Regions from separate parts of the Homo sapiens genome. Here region 2 is linked to region 1. The links are contacts of gene promoters, found by promoter capture Hi-C in blood cells and fetal thymus (Javierre and others, 2016). All regions are on one chromosome and are shown on one strand. Each heading gives the region's core, a stretch centred on a gene start or on the middle of the fragment in contact. The rest is flanking DNA. Distances are from core to core; before and after follow the strand shown.

Region 1 (3,226 bases), core at 658-3,157:
AAAGATACAGTCTGGCTCATGAAACCCCCCTGAGCAGCTTAAATGGAAAACGCAGTCCCCCACTGCGCTCAGAGCACAGATCCAGGACCAGCCCGAAGGGATTGCAAAACATGCTCTAGCATGCATTTGGGAAAACAAAGAAAACCGTACTGTTTTCTGCTCCAGACAGTCTGAGACGCTTTGTGCCCTTGGGCCCTTGCCCGGTTCTCTCATCTGCCTCAGTCCTGGTACTAAATTGGTTCAAGGTTTGGAGGAAAGCTTCAGAGCAAAGGGATAAAAGGATGTTTAGAGTTCTTAAATACCGAAGTCACCCTGAAGACCGGAGCATAGACCCTCGCCAGCCACCAGGGGGCGATAACAACAGCATCTGTACAGAAAGCCGTTCCCAAGAATAACAGCAGTAAATTGCACCTAATGTGTTTATGAATGATGAAGGGACTCGAGTGTGTGTGTTTGAGTGAGTGTGCGTATGTGTGTGTTTGTGTGTACGCGCGCGCAAGTGGGTGCCCAAAGCTAAGACTTTGAAAATCTGCTAAGTATAATACAATAAAATCTACAACTCTACTATATATTCACAGGATGTGGTCAAGTAGTTGAAAGTTTCCTTGAAGGAAAATGAGGTAGAAGAAATCAGAATAGTATTCTTATGAAAGAAAAGAGAAGCGCTCTCAGGAGTATAGTTGTCACTATGTGAGTGTGTGTGCGAGCATGCATGTACACGTGTGTGTGATTGCCGGTGTATAAATGGGTGTGTGTGAGCCTGAGTATGTGAGAGTGTGTGCGTGGCTGTGAATACGTAGGCACCAGTGTGTGTGTATATATATGCAGGGCTCATTCAGGCCTTCTCAGTGTGAGGGGACCTCAAGGAAATCTGGGCAATACTTCCTCCAGTTCCTGCCCTTTCCTTTCAAACAAACAAACAAAATCATTCCTACAAGTATTTATGGAGCCTCTAACGCACACGCCCCTCCCCACTGGCATCTGGAAAAGCTCAGACCTAGCCAATTTAAAGCGGGCGCTGGAAGAAAGAAGGCGCTGGGGACAGAAGGGATGCCTCGTCTGCGAATGACTTTTGCAAAAACACGTTCTCTTCTGTGATGCTCCAAACAACCCAGGGAGGTGAGGCCAGGTAGGACTGTGGCCCCGGATTTGAGAAAACGAAGGCTCAGAGATGACACGATTGGCCCAGAGTCACCCAGTCAGGAAGCAGAAACCCGAGGATGGAACAAGGCATTGTCAATCCAGGGGTCCAAGTCGCTGCCATCACTACTTTTACCAGTCCACCAAGCGCTGGGTCTGGGCAAAGCAGGGCAAGTTTCCGGGTAAGGTTTGCCAGCAGTGACCTCAACAACATGGACCACGGTGTGTGTGTGTGTGTAGCTGTGGAGTACATTGGTGTCAACCAAGGCTCTTCAGGCAAAATTGTGGATCTCTGCCATGAGTACTAGGTGCGGTAGGGAAGCGGCTTCGTGGGCGACACTGCCATGGTTTGGCGTCCCTAGCAGCTGTGCGACCTCCAGCAAGTCGCTTCACTTCTCTGAGCTGTTTTCAGACGACCCCTTGGAAGATCGTGGACTTAAGTAAAGAATATGAGTAGAGTGCTCAGCTCAGTGCAAAAATTAAAAAAAAAAAAGTGTCAGGAGCCTTATCCGTCCTTGGATCTTAACAGTGAATGAGTTTCAGTGTTTCTTTCCAGGGGCCCTGCTGGCCGAGCCCCTTTCCTTCCCTGGTTCCTTCTCTCTCCCTCCTCTACTGCCTCCTCCCTCCAGGCTCTCGGTCGCTCCAGCAAAGTTCCCAACTTAGTCGACATGACGCGCGGCGCAGCCAATGGGAGGCGGAGTTGGCGTTTCTTGGTCGGGGGGGGGCCGGAGGGGTGGGCCCCGCGTCTCCGGTGTCTGCCGTGCTCACTGAATGGAGAGAGCGAGCGCCGGCCAGCTCACCCGGCCGCCCCGTGCCCCAGCCGCAGCCGCCGCGCTCCCCAGCCCAGCCCCAAGCCGGACCTCCCCGGGCGCCACGCCCCATTGCGCTCGCCCCAGGTCCCCAACCCGGCCCGCGGGCCAGCGGGGCCAGGGGGCGCTCCGCACCTGGGCACTCCCAGCGATGCGCAGCGGGGCAGCGCCGGCCCCGCCGATGGAGCTGCTGTTGCTGCCGCCGCCGCCGCCCGGAGCGCCCCGCTCCGCCCGCGCCCCGTGCGCCTGAGCACCGAGCTCGCCCCTCCTCCGCGCTAACTCCGCCGCCCGCTCCCCAGGCCGCCCGCGCTCCCCGCGCGCCTCCTCGGGCTCCACGCGTCTTGCCCCGCAGAGGCAGCCTCCTCCAGGAGCGGGGCCCTGCACACCATGGCCCCCGGGTGGGCAGGGGTCGGCGCCGCCGTGCGCGCCCGCCTGGCGCTGGCCTTGGCGCTGGCGAGCGTCCTGAGTGGGCCTCCAGCCGTCGCCTGCCCCACCAAGTGTACCTGCTCCGCTGCCAGCGTGGACTGCCACGGGCTGGGCCTCCGCGCGGTTCCTCGGGGCATCCCCCGCAACGCTGAGCGCCTGTGAGTACCCCTGCCCCACCCCACGCGGGCCACCCACCTGGGTCCCACCGAGGGGGCCCCAGGCGCCAGATCCGTCCTTTCCCCTCGGCCTCCCTGGATGCAGTCTCTATTCTCATCCCTTCCTGGATACGATCCCTCACTCTCCGAGCTGGGGGTCTGTAGGCTTGGTCAGATCTGGAAAGAGAGGTCTCGAAACCCCCAGCGATGGGCAAAGAGCAGTGCCTCTCCAGGGGTGAGGGTTCCAGACGCAGGGCCCGCTGACAGCTTCCAAGGAGTAGCTGAGGAGAGGCGAGGGGAGGCAAGAGCACTGCAGCCTCAAGGTCTTAGGGTGAGGGTCAGGGGTCTGCGCTCGTTAAAAAGGGGGGCGGGCGAAGGAGAAAGCTATAGGATGATGGGCCGTCAAGGCGCGGAGGCGGGAGAGAGGGCCCGAGACTGTTGACCTGCTTGGAGATCAGAATGGGCCAGCCGCTCTCTGGCTGCCCTTGCAAGGAAAGTTGAGAGTGTGGGTGAAGGTTTAACTTCTGAGGAACTGGACAGATTCAGAGTGGGTGCTCGCAAAACCCGCTCTGCCTGGAGCGCAGTCTGGGAGATGCCAAGTTGCAGCCCCGGGTGAATTTTTTATGGCTCGGTTATAAATGCCTCCCCGAACGAAGGGGCCGGAGAATGGAAATGCTGACAGCCCTTCAAATGAGA
Region 2 (2,957 bases), core at 176-2,675, 290 kb after region 1:
CTCCTACACTCAGGGCTAGCTCACCTTCTCTGCCCTATTTTCCTTCCTTCTCTTCATTCCTGTGTGCAAAAGGCACTGTTTTCCAGCTCAGAGGAGCGAAGGAAAGTGTGTGTGTCTGTGTGGAGGAAGCCGGCTTGACGTTGGTCTTGACCTGTCTAAGTCTATCCTAGGCTTCAGCCAAAGAAAAGCCCTGGCTGTGGCTATTCTTTCTCTTCTCCACCTCACCATCCTCTCCCCCACCAGTACTTCAGGTTTCCTGGCTCTCATCAAATTTGTACTGACTTTCCACTCCATGGACTTAGGTATTCAGGACCTGGCCAATTTTGGTTCAGAAAATTTTCTGGATATATATAGCTGGAGAGAGAGAATAAGAATACATGTATAATGTATAAAGGCAGGTGATACTACCAGATAAAATTATCTTCTTGAGTGATTCAGTCCCTTTGTATCATGCCACAAAGATTATGTTCACTCCATGAGTGTGTCATAAAGCTTTGAGATATCAAGAGTGAAAACATAACCAACCTGCCTGCCTGCCTGCCTGCCTGCCTGCCTTCCTTCCCACAAAACATTCTGTATTGTGCAAGCTTCTCTGTAATACCAGGCAGGCAGACCTCAAAGTTTTTGCGAGGCATTTTATGACTTTTATCCTTCTCCCTCATCCACTCAGTGCAATAACTATCACACACAGGAACTATAGCATGAACAAGACAGGCAGTCTCTCTTCTCAGGGAACCAACAGCCTAGAGGCCTGCAAGCCAGAGCAAGTATGCAGATCTATAAACCAGGCACTTTAGAGTAAGTGGCATGAGAAAATACGACAATGTGAGGAAGAAGGAAGAGGTAAGTAACTGTAGGTTTGGAGGGCAGGTGAATGAATATTTGAGCAGAGACCTGAAGGAGTAGGAGCCAGGCCTGCTCAAAATACATTTGTCTTTCGAGGAGCTGCATGGGGCCCCGGCTGCCCTGGGCCACCTATTTAGCCCGGGTTTAATTCCACATGAGCCTTCATCTCAGAACGGGCGTAAGAGGCAGAGGTCAAGCAGCTGCTGAAAGTGGAGTAACCCAATCTTGGGCACAAGTTGGCCTTTAATAAGCATCCAGGTAGCCCTTTGAAAAACGAAACCTGTGGTCAGGTCTCTGAGAGCAGAAGGATCGGGTTTCAGTTTTAATTACAAAACCAAAGAGCTGTCCCATTTTGCTCCATTTCGGCTTCCCCCAGAAGAGGTTTTCCTGTCTCCCATCCTGGGGGCCCTGACGTGCTTACCTGACACAGAGATGGGCTGCTCTAGGTGCAGCACACGGAGCTTGAGTTGGCCAGGCTTGCGAAATGGTAGGATGGAAGCAGAGGCCCCAGATGGGATGTGAGAGCGGGTGATGAAAAGCATGTGGGAGGTGAGGACTGGGTTTGGGGGTTGTTGGAGTTCACATTTGTGGGCTATGGCTCAGATTATGACATCACAGAAGGATGGGACAACTTTGAAGCCCAGGAGAATGTGCGTGTCTTTTCTTCTCCCTTGTCCCCTGCACCTGGCAGAACCTCTGCTCAATGGAAGATAAAGCGATAAGATGGGGATGTGGCCAGTGCTAGTAAAAGACCCCTTTTAATCGCTCACATTTTTGGCACTTGCTATGTGCTAGACACTGGATTAAGCAGCTAACCTGCATTATTTTGCTTAACTCGGTCAGTGTTTCATACAGCAGATAGTAGCGCTATTCTCATTTGATAGACGCAGAAAGTGAGCCTCAGAGAGGTTAGATAAGTGGCCCAGGCTCCTCCGTGAGTAGGTAATGGCCGGGGTTCATCCCAGGTCTGACTGAAGAGTCCATATTCTTTACATCTTTGCCTCACTGCCTCTTCATGTAAGCTCTGGACCTGCCATCATAAGACAAATGGGAAGAGGTGTCCTACCTTCCTAAAGGCATTTTCCAAAGTGATTTCTGAAGATATCTGATATGGGCAACTTTCCAGAATTAGTTCAGTTGTTAAAGGTTTCACGGATGAATAAATGGTGTGGGGGATGGGGGTTGAGAAGAGGTCAGAAGGAGAGACAGCGTGGAGAATGATTTCCAAGGCTGGATCTTTTCTTTATTTGATTCTAGTAAATTTTAACGAGGCCCTTAATAAAATCCCAGTGCTTAGCAGAGCCTCCACATTTACAAGTTGCCAGACCTGGGGCGGAAGAAGGGAAGTTGGAATCCTGGCGCTCAGCTTAGTCCTGCTGACCTTTCACAGTTCAGGCGAGCCAGGCTTGTAAGATTGAGCACTGCACTCTGAGCAGAGCACTCCTGCCCAGATCAAGTGGCCAGAATCCTCACCCCAACACAAGGCTGGTCCCATCTCCTTCGAGGTGGCATCCTTCAACGGGCACACCTGAAGTGGATGGCTGCCAGTTGGTGAGACACTGGAAGGAAATACACACAGTTATCACAGGTCAGCAGAGCTTCATGCCATTTTGCTTCAGGATTATTACAAAATAAAGTCTTCTAGGCAATCATCAAAATCCTCATCTCCCAATCTATAAGATGCCCTTTCCTGTACCCCCGAAAAATGGCTTTCATCAACAATGAAGAGTTATCATTTGTATTTGCTATTTAGTAGATAATAAATAATGTTTATAACATATCAAGTTATAAAGAATAAAAAATGACAATAAAAGTGGTTCCTACCTTCTAACACCTAGTTAAACCAAAAAAAAAAAAAAGCAAGAAAGAATATTACTCTGTTTTTGAAGTCCCCTATGTTGAATGAATAAATGATATTTTTATCAAAGTGGGCAGTGCTATACAGGGGGCTTCCCCAGAATCATACTCTTTATTTCCTACAAGATTCATACTTAACAACAACAAAAGTACCAGCTTTTGTAATAGCAAAAACAGCTGCAGCACATTTGCTGACAATAACATCGGGTTACTTTTCAAGTGTGGTTGAGTGTTTTCCCTTCCCTTTGACCTGA

What was found. The method cuts DNA at HindIII sites, captures the fragments that hold promoters and counts their contacts. A CHiCAGO score of 5 or more calls a contact.
Region 2: the fragment with the promoter of SLIT3-AS1 here is called in contact with the fragment with the promoter of SLIT3 in region 1 in 1 of 17 cell types (megakaryocytes); the score reaches 7.5 in megakaryocytes.

What each region holds. Positions count from the first base shown.
Region 1 is chr5:169,299,820-169,303,045 of GRCh38, reverse strand. SLIT3 (slit guidance ligand 3) reads left to right here and starts at 1,907. Exons shown (of 36, transcript NM_003062.4): 1 at 1,907-2,533. The coding sequence starts at 2,337. The HindIII fragment of the contact is 7,800 bases long and covers 261-3,226 here.
Region 2 is chr5:169,011,695-169,014,651 of GRCh38, reverse strand. It overlaps SLIT3-AS1 (SLIT3 antisense RNA 1), which reads right to left and starts at 1,425. Exons shown (of 5, transcript NR_109897.1): 1 at 1,268-1,425. The region is part of intron 4 of SLIT3 (slit guidance ligand 3); the gene reads left to right. The HindIII fragment of the contact is 2,662 bases long and covers 590-2,957 here.